Regions from separate parts of the Homo sapiens genome. Here regions 1, 3 and 4 are each linked to region 2. The links are contacts of gene promoters, found by promoter capture Hi-C in blood cells and fetal thymus (Javierre and others, 2016). All regions are on one chromosome and are shown on one strand. The core of a region is centred on a gene start or on the middle of the fragment in contact, and the rest is flanking DNA. Distances in the headings are between cores, read along the strand shown. Region 1 overlaps DCTN2 (dynactin subunit 2). Region 2 holds the start of CTDSP2-AS1 (CTDSP2 antisense RNA 1). Region 3 overlaps KIF5A (kinesin family member 5A). Region 4 overlaps GLI1 (GLI family zinc finger 1).

Evidence for each region. The method cuts DNA at HindIII sites, captures the fragments that hold promoters and counts their contacts. A CHiCAGO score of 5 or more calls a contact.
Region 1: a contact is called between a fragment that was not itself captured here and the fragment with the promoter of CTDSP2-AS1 in region 2, in 2 of 17 cell types (naive CD4 T cells and naive CD8 T cells). The highest score is 5.6, in naive CD4 T cells.
Region 3: a fragment that was not itself captured here is called in contact with the fragment with the promoter of CTDSP2-AS1 in region 2 in 6 of 17 cell types (non-activated CD4 T cells, total CD8 T cells, M0 macrophages and 3 more); the score reaches 7.0 in non-activated CD4 T cells.
Region 4: a contact is called between a fragment that was not itself captured here and the fragment with the promoter of CTDSP2-AS1 in region 2, in 1 of 17 cell types (non-activated CD4 T cells). The highest score is 5.3, in non-activated CD4 T cells.

The regions. Positions count from the first base shown.
Region 1 is chr12:57,535,961-57,538,660 of GRCh38, forward strand. The region is part of intron 2 of DCTN2 (dynactin subunit 2); the gene reads right to left. Among named protein-coding and RNA genes, the nearest start is that of DCTN2, 9.9 kb to the right of the region's middle. The HindIII fragment of the contact is 2,781 bases long and covers 53-2,700 here.
Region 2 is chr12:57,835,572-57,838,506 of GRCh38, forward strand. CTDSP2-AS1 (CTDSP2 antisense RNA 1) reads left to right here and starts at 1,520. Exons shown (of 2, transcript NR_188077.1): 1 at 1,520-1,643. The region is part of intron 1 of CTDSP2 (CTD small phosphatase 2); the gene reads right to left. RefSeq lists enhancers at 1,750-1,819, 2,409-2,935, 2,610-2,719, 2,780-2,859. The HindIII fragment of the contact is 9,495 bases long and covers 1-2,935 here.
Region 3 is chr12:57,571,729-57,574,428 of GRCh38, forward strand. KIF5A (kinesin family member 5A) reads left to right here. Exons shown (of 29, transcript NM_004984.4): 14 at 333-539; 15 at 852-998. Among named protein-coding and RNA genes, the nearest start is that of PIP4K2C, 18 kb to the right of the region's middle. The HindIII fragment of the contact is 3,828 bases long and covers 1-2,700 here.
Region 4 is chr12:57,470,410-57,473,316 of GRCh38, forward strand. GLI1 (GLI family zinc finger 1) reads left to right here. Exons shown (of 12, transcript NM_005269.3): 12 at 1-1,859. The coding sequence ends at 1,652. It overlaps ARHGAP9 (Rho GTPase activating protein 9), which reads right to left. Exons shown (of 18, transcript NM_032496.4): 18 at 1,860-2,279. The coding sequence ends at 2,108. Among named protein-coding and RNA genes, the nearest start is that of ARHGAP9, 8.0 kb to the right of the region's middle. The HindIII fragment of the contact is 4,786 bases long and covers 1-2,907 here.

The sequences.
Region 1 (2,700 bases), core at 193-2,692, 300 kb before region 2:
GAAGGGTGGCTCTATTCCAAGGCGCCTACCCAGGCTTAACCTAGGAAACTGAAGCTTCCTGGTAAATTTGGAGCCTCAGTTGTATAAATATTAACACCCTCATTCAACTGGGAGCAGAGGGAGCATAACCTCCCCACCCTCTCTGTACATAAGCCTTCCCATCCCCCCATGCTACCCCTCCCAGTTGTCTGGCACACGCCATGCACTCAAGGCAAGAAACCAACCTGACCTCTTTTAACCTCCCCCTCCCAAAAGTAAATCTTGCCCGCTGAGCAAGTCCATTTTAATGCTAACCTCCCATCCTTGCTAGAAGGAAAGAGGAGGGAAGGCAGATAATCAGGCCACTAACACTGAGTGTGAATATTAGGACTTTAAACCTGTTGAAGGTAAGACACAAGCTCTTAGTACAAAAAGAAGGCCGACAGAGGGCCTGACCAGAAGCCTGATTTCCAGGCTGCCATGAGGCCAGCGAACTCAGGGACAGGGAGAAGGGGCAAGGGCTTACTGGATTATCTTTATGGGACATCTTAGAAGCAACAAACATAGGCAATATCTGCTTGCCAAGAGTATCCATGGGCAAGAGCCACATGTAAGCTCTGAAATGGAGATAAACCAGCATCTCTTCAGAGACGCTGCAGCACCTGATTTTTCTCCCTGACTCCTCTGCTATGCTTTAAGCACTGAAGCTCTTCCAAAAACAGGGGACACAAGTAGGCGGTGAAAGAGACTTCACCCTAGAAACTGAAGCAGAGAGGTTCCCTCCTTACTAGATATCTACATGCTGTTCAGATTCCAGTGACAACACCAAGACTGCACCAAGCACTCCTGACTGCATGTCCCTTTTTCAATTGTCAGAAGCCTGACAGCTCCCAACAGAGTACTGATGGAAGTAGGAGGGAGACCCAGGAGTCCTTTTCTGTTGGGGATGACATCTCTACCTTCTATGGGAGGAAGGCAAAATGAGCCTTCCTTCTTTCACCTAGAACAATGGTTCTCACCCCAGGCTGCATGTTAGAATCACTTATAATTTTTTTTTTTTTTTAAATAGACAGCCGGGCAATGGTGGCTCAAGCCTGTCTGTAGTCCCAGCACTTTGGGAGGATCCTAATTCCAAGTGATCCACCCGCCTCGGCCTCCCAAAGTTCGGCCAAGGCGGGTGGATCTCAGGAGTTCAAGACCAGCCTGGGCAACATAGGGAAACCCCAACTCTACAAAAAATATAAAATAGCTGGGTATTGTGGCACGTGCCTGTGGTCCCAGCTACTCAGGAGGCTGAGGTGGAAGGGTCACTTGAGCCTGGCAGGTGGAGGATGCAGTGAGCAGAGATCATGCCACTGCACTCCAGCCTGGGCAACAGAGTGAGACCCTGTCTCAAAAAAAGAAAAAGAGAGAGAGAGAAAAGAAAAAAAAAAAAAAAAAAAGGCCTGGGCCCACTTCTAGAGATTCTAATGAATTATTCTGGGGTAGGGCCAGATATCCAGGTGATTCTAACCTACAGCCAGGACTGAGAATCTCTGCCTGTGTGTAGGTATGTGGGGAGAGGGTGTGAGGGGGACATGGTGGGACATCATTGAGAAAGAAAAGCAGATAGAAGGAAGCTCCTTCCTTCATCTCTGCTCTGCTATTAGAGCAGGAATCAGTGTGGGTGACAGCTTTAAAAATAAGGGAAGAAGGAAGGAAAGGACAAAGTATCAACTTTGATCTTTACCTCTTCCTCAGGGAATTACTGGGCAGAGGGGTAAGAGCTATAGATCAAGGGAAAACAAAAGGACTCAATGTCCCATATGCAAGTGCCCGGGGGGAGAGACATTTGAGTCCCAAATGATTATCTCTTTAACCTGTTCTGAAATGTTACGGCCAGAACACCCACCCATCTAATAGCTGTGTGATCTCTGGCCTCTTATCAACTGGGAAGGGCTCAGGCTAAGGATAGACAACCATCTTCTCTGAAGTTCATACTCAGGAATATGCCACTTCTCCCTGTGAAAGCCCCAATCCAGGCCAATCCCACCCATCCTCTTTTGTTTAATCCTCTTAAAAAAGAGGAATGGGAGGCATAACCTACAGACCCAGGAAAAAAATTAATCATAGCTACCATTTGTTAAGCCCTTATTATGGGCGGGCACTATGCAGATGGAACCTACTTTCTTATTTACGTTCCTAAGTAGGGAAAGCGGGGAGTAGAAGAGGGTCAACACATAGACGGTGAGTCTCAGAGGTTCTGGACAGTCACAGGGACAGAGAGCATTTTCATTCCTGCTGTGGGAGAGTGTCCTGGGCCAGTTGGGCTACCTGGCGCTGGCATCCTCTGGAGCCTCTCCAAGGCTGTGGCCCGGGAGCACACTCTAGTCCTCCAGTAGCACCTACTCCAGCAGTGTCTTGAAGATCTGGGGCATGAGTTGGGGGCAGTATAATTACAGTGACTTGTGAGATAGGAAAAGGCTGGGTGTGGGACTGAATAGATGAATGAAAGATTTAGTAGAGTCTAAAGGACAGAGAAACAACTGCTCATCATAGCACACCCCGTTAAAAAGCAGATGAAAGGTCAGGCTTCTTACCAGCTCCTTGTGGTTTCCCCAGAGGTGAGAAAATCAAAAGAGTTAAAAGGAAAGGGAGTGGGGGAATGGGGATGAGGGAGGGAAAAAAAAGACAAAATTGTTATTAGCAAATTGTCACATGCACTACATGACAGTCTTCCAA
Region 2 (2,935 bases), core at 270-2,769:
CGGACACCCAGCCCTCCTCTTCTGCCCAGATGCAGATGTGCTTCTGCTTTCTCTGCCCCAAACATTTGGTTTGGGGCTAGATGTCTGAGAGGACTAGCACAGACCCAATGAGGGAAGCAGCTCTGGCTTAAGAAGAAAGTGAGCTGGTGGCTGAAGACAGGGAAACCAGGCCAGCCATCCAGCTCACTGCTGCGAGTCTTCCTACTGAGGCGGGGTGTGAGGAGAAGAGGGGATGTGAGGAGTATGCCCCCACTGAGGATCATCAGGGCTGGGGTCCAGGCTCTGCCAGTTACTGACTCAGCCACACAGCCTTTTGGAGCCTTAGTTTCCTCATCCATAAACTGGGATAACAGCAAGCCCTCACTCAGGACTGAAAGGATAAACGAAGTTAGAGAGTAAGGCACTGTGCTAACTCTAAAGCTAAATGCTGCGCTTGTTTTAATTAATTATCCAAGGGGAGATGACCACTAAATGGCAACATCATGGGCCTCATTCCAGGAGGCCAGCAACAGACCAGGAGCCCTCCCACCATCATCACGTGGATGAAGCCCAAGAAGATGAGGGAAAGGTGCCTGAGAGCTCTGATCATGAGCAGGTTTCAGAAAGTCAAAATAGCCCCTATACCTTCTCCCAAGTCCACAACAAAATTTGTTTTCCAGCTCACAAACTCCCTGACTGGGTATTCTGTGAAAAACAAAAGCAAGTAAGACTGTTTCACTTGAGACAAAAATCGCTGTCTCCCCTGGTATTCATCCCCACTACTCTCAAGAAGTACCAGGTAAGGACACTATTTGCCCCTATGCATGGGCCGGGGTAGGTGGCTCAAGCCTGTAATCCCAGCACTTTGGGAAGCTGGGCCGGTTGGATCACTGCAGCTCAGGAGTTCAAGACCAGCCTGAGCAACATGGCAAAATCCTGTTCTACCAAAAAAAAATTAGCCAGGTGCACCTGCAGTCCCAGCTTGGCAGGCTGAAGTGGGAGAATCACCGGAGCCCAGGAGTTTGAGGCTGCGGTAAGCCGTGATTGCACCACTGCACTCCAGCCTGGGTGACAGAGTGAGATTTTGTCTTTAAAAAAAAAAAGTGTACATGTACAAACACGTGAACACGTGCACACATACACACAAACGAAGACCAGAGTGACCAGGGCAACACTGTTTTTAATCTTCTCCTGAAAGTCAGGTCCAGATACCACTTTTGTCAACAACACAGCTTTGTGTCCCAGCAAAGGAACTCCTCACACATCTGCCTGCGATTCAGCAGAAGGTAACCTCTGAGACAATCAGATTTTAACAAGCCCATTCAGGTAGAAAGTTGCTTTCTTTTTTGGTTCATCCCCAGAAGTACTTCCTTCCCCACCACCTCCCATCCCCCACAGCAAAGGACTTAGCCTTAGCCTGGCTATCACTATAAAATGGCCCCTCTGAGGGGCCTCCTTCCTCTCAGCTATTGGAGGAAGGAGAGTATTTGGAGCATTTCCGGCCCTTCTTGGACGGCTGCCTGAACCCTGCAGCCAAGACACATTTGACTGGGACTCCCCCATGGAGAGAAGTCCTCCCAGGTCCTCTGCAAGGGGCATCTGTTCCTTGGCTATGGACATGCCCTAAAGTGCCAGGTGGACGGAAGAGCTCCTGGGACCAGCAGGTGAGTCGGCAGGGAACAAAAGAGGGTGAGATGCCTAGACAGCCCCCACACACAAAAGACTGCAAACAATGGGGAGGGTGTACTGCTTTCATGCCTGGCCACTGACACTGTTCTCTACAGCTAACAAGCAAGGCAGGGCCGGACCCAGCTTAGCACCGGCTCCCGAAGTTCCAAAAAGTAGCTGTGTATCTAACTGCATGGGCATTTTTTGAAAAAAGCAGTTTTAACACTTTGGGGGGCAAAGGCAGTGGGGATCACTTAAGGTCAGAAGTTCGAGACCAGCATGACCAATATGGTGAAACCCCATCTTTACTAAAAATGCAAAAATTAGCAGGGTATGGTAGTGAGCTCCTGTAATCCCAGCTACTCCGGAGGCTGAGGCACGAGAATCACTTGAATCCAAGAGGTGGAGGTTGCAGTGAGCCGAGATCACACCATTGCACTCCAGCCTGGGGGACAGAGCAAAACTCTGTCTCAAAATAAATAAATAAATAAATAAAATTTAAAAAATTAAAAAGCAGTTTTAGCCATGCTGTTTGGCCCATACCAGCATGTTGTATGCTGGTGCCCTCTCTGCACCAGCAACTGGGGCAGCTCTACCTAAGCCAGTGTCTCCATTAGTTCCCTTTCCCTGGGCAGGAGAGCTCCCTATATGGCTGTCTCTTCTTTCAGACCTGAGTCCTTAATGCCACCTGTGGGGCGAGGGTCACAGGTCACACACTTTCTTGTCTCTGCCCCTTCAGCAATCTGTTCTCTGACCTCAGCTAGAGAGGTAAGAGGACTCAGTTTTGGGAGCAGGGGATTTCTGGCAGTTCTAAAGCACGCTGATTTCAGAATCAGCCTCTAAAGGAGGTATTGCCAAAACACCCTCCTGGGCAGCTCCAACGTACTTTAAAAACGTGCTGGGTTGGGGTGGGCCTCCATAAGTAGCAGATCCTGGACCAGAGACAGAGGAGGCGTTTCCTCATAGACAAGTCAGCTGCAGGCTCAGCCCTGCAAGCCCCACTCCAGAGGACTCTTGAGGGATGTCAGGAAGTGATCTAATAGCCCACAGGGCAGCAGGGACAAGCCTGAGATGCCATCCAAGAAAACTCAAAGGACTGGATCCTGCCCCTGCCTCAGCAGGAGACCCTGCCCTATGTAGCACCAGCCAGAGCAAAGGTATCATTGTGAGGGATTGGAAACCACACTTGCCTACCTGGAGTTACCCCTCCTTCCCCCTAAGGAGGTGTATAACAAGCCCCTGTGGGAGGGGCTACACACAGACAACCTCTCAGTGAGTGTTTCAAGTT
Region 3 (2,700 bases), core at 144-2,643, 260 kb before region 2:
GGCTAATTTTTGTAGAGATGGAGTTTTGCCATGTTACCCAGGCTGGTCTCGAACTCCTGAGCTCAGGCAATGTGCCCACCTAGGCCTCCCAAAGTGCTGGGATTACAGGCGTGAGCCACTGCGCCCGGCTGGGGCTTTTCTTAAAGCACAAATTTTAAAGTCTGGGGGCTTCTTCATTCTTCATTCTGTTGCCCTATTTCTATGAAACCTAAAGCCCACTTCCTCTTAACTCTTTATTTTGGGTAGGGTGGGGGCTCAGCTTCCCAGACCCAAGGCCATAGAAATGGTCACTGGCAGTGATCTTTCCCACATGCCACTCCTCTCCCTTGAAGCTGCTGGTGTCCACCCGAGGAGACAACGAGAAGGTCCAGCGGGAGCTGAGCCACCTGCAATCAGAGAACGATGCCGCTAAGGATGAGGTGAAGGAAGTGCTGCAGGCCCTGGAGGAGCTGGCTGTGAACTATGACCAGAAGTCCCAGGAGGTGGAGGAGAAGAGCCAGCAGAACCAGCTTCTGGTGGATGAGCTGTCTCAGAAGGTGGTAAGTGGTGTGCCAATGGTCCAACAGCTCCCTGACCACAGAACATCTCCCATGTCGAGGGGACCTCTGCATCCTTCCAGGGCTGTATGGTGGCTGCACCTCTGCACTGCTGTTCAGTGCATTGTGAGTCCCTCCCCAACCCTGTCACTGCACTTTCCCCTCACAGTCCCTCTGTCTTTCAGACTCTTCTGCAGGGCCTGTGTTCTCTTCATAGCAGCCCTCAGGGTCTTGCATGAAGGGAGAGGCCTCTGCCTGGGCTGGGCAAGGGAGCAGGAGGATGGCAACAGGAATGACCTGAGGGGCTGTCCCCAGGCCACCATGCTGTCCCTGGAGTCTGAGTTGCAGCGGCTACAGGAGGTCAGTGGACACCAGCGAAAACGAATTGCTGAGGTGCTGAACGGGCTGATGAAGGATCTGAGCGAGTTCAGTGTCATTGTGGGCAACGGGGAGATTAAGCTGGTGAGTGGTGAGAGACAGCAGCCTTGTTCAGGCTGGGCACTAGTGGAAGACGCAAGATGAGCCATCCAGGCCTTCACAGATACTGAGAAAGGCAGCCAGAGAGCCAGGAAACATGCCTTTGAACTAGACCCAGGAAGACAGGTAGAGGCTTGTATAGACCCAATTGAAAAGATACATTCTAGGTTGGGCGCAGTGGCTCACCGCTGTAATCCCAGCACTTTGGGAGGCCGAGGCAGGCGGATCACTTGAGGTCAGGAGTTCGAGACCTGACCTCGCCAACATGGCGAAACCCTGTCTCTACTAAAAATACAAAAATTAGCCAGGCGTGGTGATGTGCACCTGTAATTCCAGCTACTCAGGAGACTGAGGCAGGAGAATCGCTTCAACCTGGGAGGTAGAGGTTGCAGTGAACTGAGATCACACCACTGCACTCTAGCCTGGGTTATAGAGTGAGACTCTGCCTTAAAAACAAAACAAAACAAAACTAAATTCTAACGGGTGCTGAATAAAGAAGCAATGGAGGCCAGGCATGGTGGTTCATGCCTGTAATCCCAACATTTTGGGAGGCTGAGACAGGCGGATCGCTTGAGCCCAGGAGTTCACGACCAGCCTGGGTGACATAGTGAAACCCTATCTCTACAAAAAATACAAACGATTAGCTGGGGGTGGTGGCACACACCTATAGTACCAGCTACTTGACAGGCTGAGGTGGGAGAATCACCTGAGTATGGGAGGTTGAGGCTGCAGTGAGACATGATTGAGCTACTGCAATCCAGCCTGGGTGACAGAGCCAGACCTTGTCTTAAAAAAAAAAAAAAAGAGGCTGTACATGGTGGCTCACGCCTGTAATCCCAGCACTTTGGGAGGACGAGGCGGGTGGATCACCTGAGGTCAGGAGTTCGAGACCAGCCTGTTCAACATGGAGAAACTCCGTGTCTACTAAAAATATAAAATTAGCCGGGTGTGGTGGCTCATGCCTGTAATCCCAGCTACTCACGTGGCTGAGGCAGGGGAATCGCTTGAACCTGGAGGCGGAGGTTGCAGTGAGCCGAGATTGCACCATTGCACTCCAGCCTGGGCAACAAGAGTGAAACTCCGTCTCAAAAAAAAAAAAAAAAAAATTTGGGAGGCCGAGGCGAGGTCAGGAGATTGAGACCATCCTGGCTAACACAGTGAAACCCTGTCTCTACTAAAAAAATACAAAAAATTAGCCAGGCATGGTGGCGGGCGCCTGTAGTCCCAGCTACTCAGGAGGCTGAGGCAGGAGAATGGCGTGAACCTGGGAGGCGGAGCTTGCAGTGAGCAGAGATGCGGCACTGCACTCCAGCCTGGGTGACAGAGGGAGACTCTGTCTCAAAAAAAAAAAAAAAAAGCAGCAGCAACAGAGCAGTGCTTGCAGTAGGAGTTAGAGGTGGGGCATAGGCACAGAGTTCAGAATGAAATATGCAAATCTGTGGATGTGAGAATAATCTGGGTGATCAAGGAGATCAAAAGAAAATCATGTTGCTTTATAAGATTTATTTGTAAGTGGGGGACTGTCAGAATTGGATTTTTTTTTTTTTTTGAGATGGAGTCTTGCTCTGTTGCCCAGGCTGGAGTGCAGTGGTGTGATCTCAGCTCACTGCAACCTCCGCCTCCCAGGTTCAAGCAATTCTTCTGCTTCAGCCTCCCGAGTAGCTGGGACTACAGGCACACACCACCT
Region 4 (2,907 bases), core at 58-2,557, 370 kb before region 2:
GCCGCTCCTCCCTGGCCTCTCCTTTCCCCCCTGGCTCCCCACCAGAGAATGGAGCATCCTCCCTGCCTGGCCTTATGCCTGCCCAGCACTACCTGCTTCGGGCAAGATATGCTTCAGCCAGAGGGGGTGGTACTTCGCCCACTGCAGCATCCAGCCTGGATCGGATAGGTGGTCTTCCCATGCCTCCTTGGAGAAGCCGAGCCGAGTATCCAGGATACAACCCCAATGCAGGGGTCACCCGGAGGGCCAGTGACCCAGCCCAGGCTGCTGACCGTCCTGCTCCAGCTAGAGTCCAGAGGTTCAAGAGCCTGGGCTGTGTCCATACCCCACCCACTGTGGCAGGGGGAGGACAGAACTTTGATCCTTACCTCCCAACCTCTGTCTACTCACCACAGCCCCCCAGCATCACTGAGAATGCTGCCATGGATGCTAGAGGGCTACAGGAAGAGCCAGAAGTTGGGACCTCCATGGTGGGCAGTGGTCTGAACCCCTATATGGACTTCCCACCTACTGATACTCTGGGATATGGGGGACCTGAAGGGGCAGCAGCTGAGCCTTATGGAGCGAGGGGTCCAGGCTCTCTGCCTCTTGGGCCTGGTCCACCCACCAACTATGGCCCCAACCCCTGTCCCCAGCAGGCCTCATATCCTGACCCCACCCAAGAAACATGGGGTGAGTTCCCTTCCCACTCTGGGCTGTACCCAGGCCCCAAGGCTCTAGGTGGAACCTACAGCCAGTGTCCTCGACTTGAACATTATGGACAAGTGCAAGTCAAGCCAGAACAGGGGTGCCCAGTGGGGTCTGACTCCACAGGACTGGCACCCTGCCTCAATGCCCACCCCAGTGAGGGGCCCCCACATCCACAGCCTCTCTTTTCCCATTACCCCCAGCCCTCTCCTCCCCAATATCTCCAGTCAGGCCCCTATACCCAGCCACCCCCTGATTATCTTCCTTCAGAACCCAGGCCTTGCCTGGACTTTGATTCCCCCACCCATTCCACAGGGCAGCTCAAGGCTCAGCTTGTGTGTAATTATGTTCAATCTCAACAGGAGCTACTGTGGGAGGGTGGGGGCAGGGAAGATGCCCCCGCCCAGGAACCTTCCTACCAGAGTCCCAAGTTTCTGGGGGGTTCCCAGGTTAGCCCAAGCCGTGCTAAAGCTCCAGTGAACACATATGGACCTGGCTTTGGACCCAACTTGCCCAATCACAAGTCAGGTTCCTATCCCACCCCTTCACCATGCCATGAAAATTTTGTAGTGGGGGCAAATAGGGCTTCACATAGGGCAGCAGCACCACCTCGACTTCTGCCCCCATTGCCCACTTGCTATGGGCCTCTCAAAGTGGGAGGCACAAACCCCAGCTGTGGTCATCCTGAGGTGGGCAGGCTAGGAGGGGGTCCTGCCTTGTACCCTCCTCCCGAAGGACAGGTATGTAACCCCCTGGACTCTCTTGATCTTGACAACACTCAGCTGGACTTTGTGGCTATTCTGGATGAGCCCCAGGGGCTGAGTCCTCCTCCTTCCCATGATCAGCGGGGCAGCTCTGGACATACCCCACCTCCCTCTGGGCCCCCCAACATGGCTGTGGGCAACATGAGTGTCTTACTGAGATCCCTACCTGGGGAAACAGAATTCCTCAACTCTAGTGCCTAAAGAGTAGGGAATCTCATCCATCACAGATCGCATTTCCTAAGGGGTTTCTATCCTTCCAGAAAAATTGGGGGAGCTGCAGTCCCATGCACAAGATGCCCCAGGGATGGGAGGTATGGGCTGGGGGCTATGTATAGTCTGTATACGTTTTGAGGAGAAATTTGATAATGACACTGTTTCCTGATAATAAAGGAACTGCATCAGAAAAAATACCATGCCACTTTATGTATTATTATGTTGGGGAGGAATGATAACAGGGAACAAGAAGAGAAGCAGGGGTTAATCCACTCACTTTCCTCTTTAGAGAAGCTCCCTCACCCATCCCAACACCTCAAGTCACACTCATGAAGATAGAGACAGTCATTTGGGAGATTTAAAGGGATATCCTCAAAACAGAACACCAGCCTCTCACCACCAGAGATGACCGGAAATATGTTTTCTCTTCTTCCTTCCCTGCATCAGGGGAAGAGGCTGGTGAAGTTGGTGAGCATCAGCTGGACCAGCTGCCCTGGGTAGAGAGCATGGGCTGCTGGGTCAGATGTCTCCTGCTCTGGCCGAAACAGGGTTGGTCCAAACACAATTCCCAGGTTGTGGGGTGTCATGCGATTCTTATCTGAGTGTGCTATCACCCTGTAAGCAAAGGCCAAGGAAGGGGATATATGGCAGCAGCTTGCCACTTCATAGCAATCTAACTAACCCTTCAAAGTTCTGAGCAGGGAAGAGTTCACTCTGGGATTCCTCCACATGGTAACAAAAAAACCAAGGAGATACAAGGAGAATGGAGATGGACCAGTGGAGAAACCTTCAGGATACAACCTGAAGATATAACTGCCTCTTCCGACTTCAGGGGCTGCCCCAAGAGTTCTGCCTGCTCACAGTTTGGGAGTCTTTAATTCAAGTGGCCATCCTCTCTCAGAAGTCACTGCCCAGGCCCAGTTCAACCAAAGAAGCCATCAGCAATGTCCCAATGGGAGACAAAGAGGCAGAGGGAAGGGAGAAGTAAGATTTCCCTTATTCCTTTCACAGCATCTTGGTTCCATTTCCCCACTTGATGCTGACCTTTAGGTTTTGACCTAAAGTCTTTGACGGGCACGGTGTAATCCCAGCACTTTGGGAGGCTGAGGTGGGTAAATCACCTGAGGTCAGGAGTTCGAGACCAGCCTGGCCAACATGGTGAAACCCCGTCTCTACTAAAAATACAAAAATTAGCCAGGCGTGGTGGCGGGCACCTGTAATCCCAGTTACTCAGGAGGCTGAG